Linked DNA regions of Homo sapiens: region 2 is linked to region 1. Evidence: promoter capture Hi-C in 16 types of primary human blood cells and fetal thymus (Javierre and others, 2016). All regions are on one chromosome and are shown on one strand. Each heading gives the region's core, a stretch centred on a gene start or on the middle of the fragment in contact. The rest is flanking DNA. Distances are from core to core; before and after follow the strand shown.

Region 1 (6,777 bases), core at 1,795-4,294:
ACTCTGTGGTCCAGCGGTGCCAGCCTCCTTTCCACTTTCCAGGTGGCCATGCTTCTCCGGCCTCTGGGCTTGACATGCAGACGCCCAACCTCACAAACTTTTCTCCTCAGTCCCACTTAGTGACCAAAGCCTTAATTTTTCAGATCCAGGTCCTGTGTCCTTTTCTCTTTGAATCATTTCTCAACTCCCCTTCTTGCTTTTCTCTGTTCTCTTAGCATTTTGGCCCACTCCTCTGGCCTAGCTCTTCTCCATGCATTGTAATCTGGTAGCCTGCACTGGACTGGACTGTTAATGTCCCATGGCAGGATGGTGGCTTTTTGCCCTTTTTAATCACATGAGCTCACATGGTGCCAGGTGTCCAAGTAAAAGAGATTCAATCTGAAGGGTTTGAAGCTGGGCAGTGACAAAATCAGAGTTGTTTTAATATTAGGTTGTAGCAATAATGGCAAAAACCACAATTACTTTTGCACCAACCTAATATCTCAAACTGGGAGGAGAGAGATATGGATGGGAGAAGGCCTCCAATCCATATGGACCTCTCTGCTTGAGCCCGAGAGGTCAAGGCTGCAGTGAGCTAGGATTGCGCCACTGCACTCCAGCCTTGGTGACAGAGCCAGACCCTGTCTAAAAAAAAAAAAGAAAAAAAAAAGTGACATTATTTTCATTTGACTCAAATATCTGCAGGAAGATGGAAGACCTTACTGTTTTCTTTTCTGATGATTGGCCTCATATACCTTAGTAATTATGGTTCAGAATTTATTTTAGTCAGTTTGGAATCATCATGTAGCAAACTCTTTTTTAACATCCTATTTCTATTTTTGTGCAGATATGAAGCTGAATACCCACAGTTACTTCCCTGCCTGAGAAAATACATCACTTATAGTGTTGTATGATATGAGTATCAATTTGTTATTCATTCATTCATTCTGTTGGGAACGGGGAAAAGCCTTTTTCTTGTACCAGCTTATGTTCAATGGTCAGGGGCCTGCAAATTAACTGACAAAAGACAAGTTGACAGGAGAGCAGACAAACTTTATTCTTTTGTTTTGTTTTATTTTTGAAACAGAATCTCCCTCTGTCCCCCAGGCTGGAGTGCAGTGGTGTGATCTCGGCTCATTGCAGCCTCTATCTCTTGGGCTCAAGCGATCCTCCCACCTCAGCCTTCTGAGTAGCTGGGACTAAGGTGTGCACCACCATGCCTGACTAATTTTTGTGCTTTTTATAGAGACAGGGTTTCACCATGTTGCCTAAGCTGCTGCCTTGGCCTCCCAAAATGCAGAGATTACAGATGTGAGCCACCATGCCTAGCCAAAATTTATTCATGTAGTCAATGCTAAGTCAATGAAAGAGACTTACACAAAGAATTGGCTCCCTAAACAGCTAGAGTTGAGTGTTTATATATCATCTTAGTAAGAAAGAGGGTTAAGACTTTAAGAAAGTGTATGGTGGGAGACTAATGAGAAATAAGTGTGAGGAACAGAAAGTTTTGATAAGGTTTTGTTTATGCAACATCTCCTCTAGGTGCAAGTGGTCTATCTCCTCTTTGGTCATTAACCTCCTGGAGAGGAAATAAATGGCAGATGTATTTTAGGAGGCATTGCTTATGTCCGCAAAAGAAATTTAGATAAGGTTTTTTTCTGCTGCTGCTGTTTTTCTGATGTTTTCAGCCTAAAATCATCTTCATCCACATCAGTGGGTCCAAATGGATCTCACTAATGCACTCACATATTTTTGGACAGCTATTGAATGGTAGGCACCATTCCATGTGCTGGAGAGATGGCAGAGAACAAAATGGAGAGAAATTCCTGCTATCACTGAGAGCTTACATGCTCTCATCTAAGTCTTAATCGGGCCCAACTCTGCTTAGCTTCCGAGATCAGAAGAGATTGGACGCATTCAGGGTGGTATAGCTGTAGACTCAGGTTACTTTCTAATGAGAGACGGACAATAAACACAAATAAGTAAAATACCATCTATAGTATGTTAGATGGTGATCAGGGTTAAGGAGAATAATAAACCAGGGAAGGGTTTAGGAAGTTACAGTGTAGCAGGGACGTGCAATTTTAGATAGGAAGGCCTGGGAAGCTCATTAAGAAGGTAAGATTTAGGCCGGGTGTGGTGGCTCATGCCTGTAATCCCAGCACTTTGGGAGGCAGAGGAGTTGGATTGTTTGAGGTCAGGAGTTTGAGACCAACCTGGCTAAAATGGCGAAACCCCATCTCTACTGAAAATACAAAAATTAGCCGGGCATGGTGGCAAGCGCCTGTAATCCCAGCTACTCGGGAGGCTAAAGCAGGAGAATCGCTTGAACCTAGGCACTCCAGCCTGGGCGACAGAGTGAGACTCTAAATAAATAAATAAATAAATAAATAAATAAATAAATAAATAAATGAAGGTGAGATATGGCCGGGCGCCATGGCTCACACCTGTAATCTCAGCACTTTGGGAGACCAAGGCGGGTGGATCATGAGGTCAGGAGATTGAGACCATCCTGGCTAACAAGGTGAAAGCCCATCTCTACTAAAAATACAAAAAATTAGCTGGGTGTGGTGGCGGGCACCTGTAGTCCCAGCTGCTCGGGAGGCTGAGGCAGGAGAATGGCGTGAACCTGGGAGGCGGAGCTTGCAGCGAGCTGAGATTGTGCCACTGCACTCCAGCCTGGGCGACAGAGCGTGACTCCTTCTCAAAAAAAAAGGTGAGATGTGAGTAAAGATCTAAGGGAGGAGAGATCCATCACACTAGATATTTGTACCTGCAGTGTTTTTGGCATTCTATTAATGTTATTAGTAGTTATTAATGTTTTGGCATTTACATATAAAGAAGGCCATACAGACTGAACATTAACAGAGCTGCCATTTGGGTCTTTGAGGTGATTACTCACCTAATGTGATTAAGCCCCCGCCGAAAGTGCATGGTTTTTTCTAAGGTGGTTGTTTCCTTCGAGAGTGCAAGGACTCAGTGAGTCACCACTTCGTTGTTTGGCCTTGTCAATGTTGCCTTCCTACACTGATTCTCTTCCCGCTACCAGTTTTGATTGTTCTGAGCAGACAGCAATAAAGAGATGATTCTAGAAAAATTCTCATGATTGCCTCAGAATGAAATTCTTGTTTCCCTTAGCAACAACCTGATTTGCTAACCTATTACCATAGAAATAGAATGCAAAATATATAAGCAATGTAATGTTACCTTTTATTTTTTAAAACCCTCTCTTCTACTATTCCTGGACATTACATAGATGATTCTCTGTCCTTCTAGGCTGAACCAGTCTCTTGTTTCTTTTCAGCTTTCTTTCAAAACTGCCATTTCAATTTCTATCTTTATCTCGTAAGAATAGAAAGGGGAGATAGAAAAACAAAGCAGCAATTACCCACAGAGATGGTTTTACTTAAATAACACTGCTCTTTTTACAATTCCTTTTCATTTTACTATCACCATTTTGTTTAACAGGAGTCAGCTTCTATATCTAATCTTCTATATCTAATACATAATCTTTTAAATCTGTATCTAATACGTAATCTTTTAAAAAATAGTCTTCTGATGCCTTAGATTCCTAGGGGAAATTAAAACTTTAGCAGCCTCATCAAGGTTTATGTATTCTTCACTCTTCTATATAAGCATACCTGTTGTAGAGCTGGACCTGGTGGTGTGCACCTGAGTCCCAGCTATTTGGGAGGATCACTTGAGCCCAGGACTTTGAGTCCAGCCTGGGTAACATAGCAGGACTCCATCTCTTTAAAAAAAAAAACTGCTGAGTATGATGGCTCCCACCTGTACTCCCAGTGGTTGGGAGGCCGAGGCAGCAGGATCAGTTGAGGCCAGGAGTTCAAGGCCAGCCTGGGCAACATAGCAAGACCCCATCTCTACAAAAAATAGAAAAAATTAGCTGGACATAGTGCTGTACACCTGAAGTCCCAGCTGTTGAGGAGGCTGAAGTGGGAGGATTGCTTGAACCTAGGAGTTCAAGGCTGCAATGAGCTATGATGGCACCACTGCACTCCGGCCTAGGCGACAGAGCAAAACACTCTTTAAAAAAAAAAAAAGATTTAAATATATCTATTGGAAAAATGCTTTCACCCAAGAATAAACCAATAATGACTCTAAATGTTTTGTTTTGGGATCTAGTTCTTTTCTAAAAAAGTTCTCATCACATTTTTCTATAACTTGATTAATTAGTTAAGCAAATAATTACTGAGCATCTACTACAAGCTACATGCTAAAACTGGGGATAGAGTAATTAAGGATGAAGTCCCAAGTCTCGAAGAGCTCAAGTGTCCAGACGAGGATGACAGAGGTAGCCGTAAGATCTTGAAGGGCATTGTCTTGGTCCATCCAGGCCGCTATAACAAAATGCCTTAGGCTGGGTAATTTATACCCAATAGAAATGCTTTGCTCACAGTTCCAGAGGCTGAGAAATCCAAGATCAAGGCACCAGCAGATTCAGTGTCTGGTGAGGGCCTACTTCCTCTAGATGGTACCTTCTGTGGGTGCTCACATGGCTGAAGGCTCAACCAGGCTCCTTCAAGCCTCTTTCATAAGGGGACTAATCCCATTCATGAGAGCTCTAGCCTCATGACCTAATCACCTTCTAAAGGGCCTAACTCTTAATACATTGTGATTCGGTTTCAACATACAGATTTTGAGGGCGCTGAAGAGGGGGGTACGCAAACATTCAGACCATAGCAGGCATTTATGCTGTGCTAAGGAGTTTGGATTTCATCCGGAAAGTAACAAGCTGCCAATAAAATAGATGCAGTGGCACTGACATGGAAAGTTCATGTGGAACTTTGGACTTTGGAAAGTTCACTGTCAATTTAGTGGAGAATAAATTGGGGAATGGAGCAACAAGAGAGGAGAAAAGCCTCTGAACTTTTTTTTTGCAGAGAAGTGCTTTTCTTCTGTGCTACTTCTACAGAGATTCTGAGGCAACTCCGGTGAGAATAAGGAGGTAAAATGGATTTGTGAGATTTTAAGAAGAAAAATCTGAGAACAGTTGGCAATAAATTTGAAATACATAGTAAAAGAAGGAAAAAAACAAAATTCTAAGAGGACAGTGGCTACCAGATGTCTGCTAAAAAAAAGCAAATGGATGTTCCATGGATATTAACAATATACTGTAATATCTTTATAACACTGGTATTTGGAAACAACTAATAATCACCCTGTAAGCTCTTATTCTATGATAGGGTTTCCCTAATGCATAGGTAGTGGAAAGGATACAAAATCTGGAATCTCACAAGCTGGTTTCAAACCACAACTCTGATATATTTTCACTGGAAAAAAAAATTTCTGATCATTTGTAAATTGAAAGTAATCAGAAACCTATTACACATGCTTATGATGATAAGTGAGGTGGGTTATTGAAAGTTGGTTTTTTTTTTCCTTTAAGATTATAAAGCATTGTAGTGTAAAATGGTGGTGGTACTAGATGGAGTGTATAGGTTTCTAATCCTTTGAGAGGGCACATCGGCAAAGTTGAGCTTCTTTACCTGCTGCTGGCTGGGTCCCACTGGTGGAATTCCAGCGTGGCAGGCACAGCATTGCAGAAGTCTAGACTACAGGAATTGGGTGTGGAGACTTGGGCTCCTTCAGGTGGCGTTGTTTGGATTATGCTTCCTGTCTCCTCGCAGGAGCCCAGTTTTAACTCTGAGTTAGAGCATGTTGCTAAATGATCCCTGCTGCCTGTTCCTTCCCTCTGATCACCTATCACCTGGTCACTCTGATCATCTACCCTGGACCAAGACAGTCTTCAGCTTTATGTTAGGCAGCCAGAACAGGGCTATTCTCTAATGTGCCACTGGATACTTGGCAATGGGTAAGTAGTCATCTCCCTTCCAGAGCTTGGCCTCTGTCCTGAGCCAGAGAAGAATTCATGCTAAGGAGGCCAGTGCTCACTCCAGCCCTAGCATTGTATTAGGCATAATTTTCCCCAGAAGACACCACCCGACTGCCTTCTATAAGGGCCTGAAAACCTGTTGGAAACAAATAACCTGGAGCTGGTAGGGACATGCTCCACCCCAGCCCCATCCTCTCGAGTCATGCGTGTGTACCCAAGAGTTTGCAGAGCGATCTGATGAGCTACCTTTGTAGGTAATTTGCCCTTTTATGATCTTTTTGTCTTTCGTATTTTGTAGTTTCCCTATGTCATATCTCAGTGAGTTTGTTTTTATTTTTCCTATTTAGGGCTGAATTTCTGGAAGTTGTATTCAATTCTCTTTCAAGTCTGGCCTTTTTTAGAATATCTTATCTTCTCATTTTTAAATATTTTATATCTTTATGTTAAATGTACATATTTTATAACTATATTCTATCATTTCTGACTTAATGAAGTCTTGAGGATTGAGATTTGTCATATATGTTTTCACTGATGTTGAATTGTTTCCTTACATAGTTTATATTTTTTGGATTGTGAGTTCAACTTTAGTGGTGCATTATCAGTAAGAATTCTGCATAGCAAACTTCAAGGGGTCTGCCATGAAAATGTTTTTGCTTTGTTTCTGCCAGGCACTCCAGGGATATCCCAGGCTCAAGAGCAATTATGAGTATTATAATAAGTGTTAATTTGAAGTTCAAACAGCACCAGGATCAGCTGTGGTTGAAAGTGTTTAGAGAAGACCTATTTTTGCTCCTCCAGAGCTCAGTCTTGAGACAAACCAGCTTTCTTTTTGTTTCACAGTGTAGTGGGCTGACTTTTCTGATCTACCCTTTCACCAAGGGCCTGGTTTTGTGTGTTTCTGCTCTTTGCCTGGCGTAGGCACTAGGCCATACTTCCTATCCCCT
Region 2 (6,777 bases), core at 2,154-4,653, 120 kb before region 1:
AGAAGCAGAGATTATCAGCAGATTTGTGCAGAGAAATCTGCATTAGAGCAAAAGAATGCTACTCGGGGATGAAGTGGTGAAAAAGTGGGGAAAAAAACAACTCACTGGGGTTATAAGTCATGAGAAAATTTGACCTCAGAAGGGTCCCAAAAGAGAGGAACGTATTCTCTGGTTAGTCATTCTGATGAGCTGAGTTGAAAAGTTATTTCAGAAAAAATTTCTGAAGAAACTCAGAACTTTTGACATCCCGAAATACTAAGTAGGAATATTTGTGGAAATTTTTGCATTTTGTAGTTGATCCTTAGGAGCAGGAGACAATTGTGTAAACACACTGCAGGACTAGGACTCAGGATGACTTTCTTTAGAAGGAGGAAGAAGATGAAATGTGTGAGAATGACAGGATTTTCACAAGTTTAAGACCTTTCTCCAATTGAAACGAAAGATAAATTAGGGGAAAAGGCTGAAGTTTTTCATCTAGATTCAGAAATGCTTTCAAAAAGCAACACATTCTAAATCTATCTAAAGATGCCACATGATCTTGTCGAAACGGTAATTTGACAAATTATTTTTAACAACAAAAATACTCAAGTGCTACATGAACAATTCACCCCTTCATCGTTGAAGAGAACTGCTGGTTCTCAGCAGTCCTGCAAAACACCTCACTGGCATGAGAAGAGGTATTTATGGTCTTTTAGAGATCTGCAGGAAATGTTTTTGAACTAATCTGTATTAACTACTGAAAAACTGGCAGGACAAGGCTGGGTGCGGTGGCTCACGCTTGTAATCCCAGCACTTTGGGAGGCCGAGGCAGGCAGATCACTTGAGGCCAGGAGTTCGAGACCAGCCTGGCCAAGATGGCGAAACCCTGTGTCTACTAAAAATACAAAAATTAGCCAGGCGTGCTCGTGCACGCCTGTAATCCCAGCTATTCAAGAGGCTGGAGCAGGAGAATTGCTCGAACCTAGGAGGCGGAGGTTACAATGAGCCGAGATCATGCCACTGCACTCCAGCCTGGGTGACAGAACGAGACTCCATCTTAAAAAAATAACAAAACTGGAAGGACAGAAGGCCAATGGGGTGTGGAGAGAGGATGACCACACCTTGTCTCTAATTTCTGCTTTGATGAGTACCTTGGGCAAGGGCATTTGGATAATGACTGGTTGTTTGCGGGTTTATATGTTGGAGGAGGAGGAATTTGAAAGCAGCATCAGTAGGTGGTTTACCGATATAGCTGCTCACCGTGAGCATTAAATACTGGGTGGATGAGTGTTGCAAAGCACAGCCTGCCCCAGGTTCCTCCATATGCTTCCTTCCTCCCTGGCTGCTGACTTCCAGCCTTATTCATCCTGGCCCTCAGTCTTTCAGTCGACGTCCATGTGGGCTTATAGACATCAGATGAATTAGACTTGCCCCCTGCCTGAAAGTTCACATTCTATTGGACAAGACTGATTAAAAAAATGACAGATTTTAAGTTCGTGGTAATTGCAAACTAGATATGGTGCTGTGGGTGTCAGGAAATCTCGTAGGAGGCAATGTTTGAGCCCTCCCTTTTGAGAGATGAATGAGCATTCCCTAGGTGCTGATGAGCATTTCATTTTGAAGGAGGTTATCTGGCCGTGGGTGTGACAGTGGTCCTGAGATATTGGAGTCATATTAGACAGCAAAACCGGCCAACAGAGTATCACGGAGGCATTGTATTTTCACTGGCGACCTTCACGCACCCTAATGGAGCCCTCATAATTCCTTTTTTTTTTTTTTTTTGATACAGAGTTTCGCTCTGTTGCCCAGGCTGGAGTGCAGTAGCATGATCTTGGCTCACTGCAACCTCTGCCTCTCAGGTTCAAGCGATTCTCCTACCTCAGCCTCCTGAGTAGCTGGGATTAGAGGCGCGTGCCACCATACCCGGCTAATTTGTGTATTTTTAGTAGAGATGGGGTTTCACCATGTTGGCCAGGCTGGTCTCGAACTCCTGACCTCAAGTGATCTGCCAGCACCCCTGACATTTTCTTCTCCAGGTGACAACAGCTTTGGCCTCTCAAAGTACTGGGATTATAGGCATGAGCCACTGTGCCCGGCCAGTCCTAATAATTAAGGCAATTTGACTATAAGTTTTGAGCATATTATATAATTTTCTTTCTTGTTCCAGTTTTATTTCTTAACTAAAATCAGGAATTTATCTATAACTGTATCTGAAAGATGCTGAGTAAAACAACAGCCACTGGCTGATTTTCTTCTCCTTAATTATACAAAATGAATTGCCTATGCAGTTATCCAAGAGCCTTAGTCAGTGTTAATCTAGTTAAAGCTACCTAGTTAAAGCTGTTTTACAATATTTTACACTCATTTCTTAGAAGTTATTCTCTTACCTTTGACCACAATTTCTACAAAACATGTACTTCAACTTTTAACTTCTAAAAACTTGCCTTCAAGTTTTAATTCTTTATTTCTAAGGTATCTTATTGTACCATGCCAGGTGTTAAATTCTGTAATTTAATTGCATCTTTATTCTTCAAGAAACTAATCTTATAGTCTTTTGTATATTTTCTCAGGTTTTATTTGCCCTGTGTCTTGTCTTTGCATATGTTTTGCGAAGAACACTCCCCCATATTTTTAGAACAATTTTCTTCATTTTTTTTCCTGAACAAATACATATTTGTGTGAGCATACATATATAGACATTTTGGGGGATTTTAACCCATTTATGACTGAGGTTGCAATTTTTTGAATTTTTGCAATCAGACCTTGGTGATGACCTTGAGCAGTAGGATATAAATAACTCCTACATGCTTGGTGTTCCAATAATGGAACACTAGGTATAAATTAATACGGTTCAAATGTGGCTGTGTAGTGATAAATATTGACATTTTTCCAAGTGCCTTCTTTATCTGAATACATTTGAGAAGCTTGTCAACCAAGATAATCCACACCTGATTCAGAAAAGTGGGATTAAGTCCACTGACTAAGGATGTGAAATGGATAATATTGTATACTCTATGCCTACATGGACACATTCACAGCTCTACAGATGACTCAAGGAATACTGCTTTATTTAGGATTTCTCACTTTGGGGCAGAAAATGGAAATTTTGTTTTTTTTTAGAGATCATTTTGAAATCCATCTCTTAGATCATGGTAATAAATAATGGCCTCCAAAGAACCACCATATATCTGATAGACCTAGGTTCTTAAATACAGCAATATTTTCCCTGTTGGCTAAAGTTGGCTTCATTGTATGCTGAAAGCATTCCTTTTTACCCTGTTTATGGATTTACAATATGGCCGCTGCTTGGAGATCACTTGACAATAGTCTACACCCTTGCTACTCAAAATGTGGTCCCTACACAGCAGCATGGGCATCAACTGGGTGCTTATGAGAAAGGTAATCATCACCCCAATGTCACACAGCTCAATCAGAATCTCTTTTTTGACACAATATCCTGGTGATTCATGTACACATTAAATTTGAGAACACTAGTCTGAACTCACAATTTTTGCCTCATAACCTCCCACTTATTCTTCAATCCATTGTTTTTAATCTGCCAGTCTTGCAAAAGACACTCATGACCTGTTAATAGCTAAACATGCACCAGGCTTCTCAGCCTTTGCTGTACATTTCCAGCATATACTATTGTGGTGGGTTTTCGGTTCTGTTGGTTCCTTTTAGAGTTATAGTTTGTTTCGCCCCAGAAAATTCTTTTAATGGGCATTGGCTCCCTGTACATTCTTTGGCCAGAGTGTATCTAGACAGCACCCGTACTAACAGGACTAGAAGCCCTGCTGCCCTATGAAGGGACCAGAGATGTTGTAACCTGGATAAGAAAATGTCATGGATGCCAGGATTACTGTTCTTAAGTGTCTGAAGGTTTCTGGAAGAGAAGGAATTTGAGTTTTTCAGTGAAGCTTTAGGAAAGCAGAAAATAGAAGCAATGGGCCAGACATGGCAACTCATGCCTGTAATCCCAGCACTTTGGGAGGCCAATAAGACCAGGAGTTCAAAACCAGCCTGGGCAATGTAGCAAGACCCTGCCTCTACAAAGATTTAAAAATTAGCTAGACATGGTGGCGCGTGCTTATAATCCCAGCTACTGGGGAGGCTGAAGTGGGAGGATCCCTTGAGTCCAGGAGTTTGAGGCTGCAGTGAGTTATGATTGAGAGAGCAAGACCCTGTCTCTCAAAAAAACGAAAGAAAATTGAAGCAGTGAATCAGTAGAAGTTAGAGACAGATTTTGCATTTGTATAAAAAATACATTTTTAAAGAATTTGAATATTCTAACAAGAAGTGTAATTCTTTCAACTGTATGTAGCAAACTGACCATTCTTAGAGCACAGACGGTGTTCAAACCAAGGCCACCAGAGGTACTGAAGAGTAGGGGTCAGAAAGAGGACTGGGGGATTTCCCCTAATTTTTCTCACTAATCCTTATTGCTTTTTTATTGCAAAAAGGAAAGAATATTGTTATGCATACTCAAATTGTTTTTTTTCCCCTGTTAAACCATGATTATACATAGATTTTGTCTCCCTCTCTCGTGGGTATTAGAACCCTGCATGGTTTTCTCTGTGTGGTGGGGCCATAGCTTTCTTCTAGGATAGTTATTAAAATGCATACCACTTTCAATTGTGTATCCGGCATTCTTTCCGTGATGTTCAGTGCCTCGCTAGTCATTTTCATTTAAAGAGACCCAAATACTTCCATAGAACAGTACATAGAAATTCCTGGGTCAATAATTAAGTTGTAACTAATAGCTCATAGTCAGACATCATGTTATTACAGGTAAGATTATCTTCCACCTGTATCGTTTTTCACAGACCTACAGACATGAACGTATTTGTATTTTCCTGCCCCCCCCTCAAAATTTTATGAAATTTATTTCATTTGAGTCCTTTATGTCTGGTTTTTTCATTCTGTAAACCTAGAGAATACTTATTAACTTGAACATTAAGCCATAAACCTGCTGTATTTACCATAGTTGGTATTTGTTCTATTGGGGAAGTCAAGAGTTAAGATATTAAATCATTTGAAGTATCTGACACTCTTCCAAAACTGCCACCATCCTAGTTCAAACATCATCAGCATTTCGCACCTGGACCCATGCAGCTGTCTCCTAACTAGTCTTCCTGCTTCTTCTCTTGACCCTGTTTCCAGGCTATGCATGCTCCTTACCAACTAACATCCCATAAGCAGAATCAATCTGGGTTTAAGGGAGAAGCAATGTTAGACATTAAGCTAACGTTAGGATGAGACTTTGGAACGTGACTAAGAAATCTCTGGGTTATGCTAACTCTCCTCGGAATTATCTAGATTAAATTTCTTGCTACCAAAAAAGACATTATCTATGCCTTTATTGAAAATATTGTTAAGTAGCAGATACAGATGTGAGCTCTTTTTCATGTCCACGGGCCCTTCTTCTGTGTGTGTAGCTGGAAGGCTTTGAACAAACAAGCAGCGGAAACATGCAGAATGCCTGCAGAAAAACTGAGGCACAGGCAGCGGCACAAGGAATTTTATTTTTAGAGTCCACCCTGTGAACAGGGTCTTGTGATGTTCATGGGCAGGATGGTAGGTGTGCTGGGAGTCACTGCATTCCTCTACTCCCAGCTCAAAGAAGGGGAGAAAGAGCCATTCAGTGGGGAGCGTTCCCAGCATCCTCCTCCCTGCCACAGCAGCCAGAGGCAGGGAGCTGGCCGGCCTTTCCTTTAACTCTTTGAGTGCCCTGACAAAACCTTTTTTCTAGGTCACGTCAGTGTTCTTGTATTTTCAAAAAGTGTATTCGTGTGTTGAGAGTTGAACATGGAGAGAAAATTAATTTTCTTCCCAACAATTTGTGTTGGTGAAATACATGATTATATTTATCCCATTTTTAATACTCTGATATAGGAAAGGGAAAAATAGTCATCTTCGTCTATTCAATTTAAAGGAACTTTTCTAAACAAGATACATAATAGATGCCGAAGCTCCAATTAAGTTGCTCAAAAAAAAAAAAAAAAAAAAAACTTTAATGACTGCCAAGTGTATGCCCGCTGCTGCCCTGTCAGTATTCTGAACAGGAAACATTATGTTCCAGCCAAATACCACTTACACTGGTCTTCATTTTAAGAGCAATTTATTTCCATTAATGTGAAAATGAATATTTGTTGCCAGAATTTCTAAGGAGCATGATAATGGATCAAAATGCTAAAATAAGCAGTCGGTGCTCTGCGGCATGGTTGATGGATGAGTGTCTTTAAATCAGCTTCCAAATCTGTGGTTCTTAGTCTTATTGAAAATTAGAATCACCTGATTCCAAAAATCCTGATGGCCACCCTACACCCCAGACCAAGTAAATTAGGATCTCTGGGCTGAGGACTCAGACTTGCTGCTTTTCAAAGCCCCCAGGTGATTACAATGTGCAGCCAAGGCTGTGAATTATTCTTTAAGTGACTAGGCTTTGCAGCTGCACTTCATTGAGCCGTAACTTCTCTAACCAGAACTCCCTGGTGTAGGTGCTGGTGAGGGGTGTGCAAGGTGTGGATACCTGTCCATGTTGGAGTGCATGGGGTTGGAAGTTCTACTTTCTGCTGCTGGATTGGGAGCTGCTGATTTCCAAACTGTGGTGGCATGGACTAGGTCCTCCTTCCAGCACAATCTCAAGATATCTGTGGGAGTTCTTTGGCTTCTGTCAAAGTGTCAGGAGCCTTCCTTATAACCCTGACACCATGAACAGAGACTTTTCTGGGCATGGGAGAGTCAAGGGTTCTCATATATACATATATATATGTATATATGTATGTACACACACGT

The links. The method cuts DNA at HindIII sites, captures the fragments that hold promoters and counts their contacts. A CHiCAGO score of 5 or more calls a contact.
Region 2: a contact is called between a fragment that was not itself captured here and the fragment with the promoter of MAP3K5-AS1 in region 1, in 1 of 17 cell types (naive CD8 T cells). The highest score is 5.2, in naive CD8 T cells.

The regions. Positions count from the first base shown.
Region 1 is chr6:136,625,381-136,632,157 of GRCh38, reverse strand. It overlaps MAP3K5-AS1 (MAP3K5 antisense RNA 1), which reads right to left and starts at 3,044. Exons shown (of 3, transcript NR_125858.1): 1 at 2,882-3,044. All of the region lies in intron 14 of MAP3K5 (mitogen-activated protein kinase kinase kinase 5), which reads left to right. It also overlaps the pseudogene RNA5SP219. The HindIII fragment of the contact is 14,560 bases long and covers 1-6,777 here.
Region 2 is chr6:136,744,357-136,751,133 of GRCh38, reverse strand. The region is part of intron 1 of MAP3K5 (mitogen-activated protein kinase kinase kinase 5); the gene reads left to right. Among named protein-coding and RNA genes, the nearest start is that of MAP3K5-AS2, 36 kb to the left of the region's middle. RefSeq lists an enhancer at 5,942-6,111. The HindIII fragment of the contact is 996 bases long and covers 2,906-3,901 here.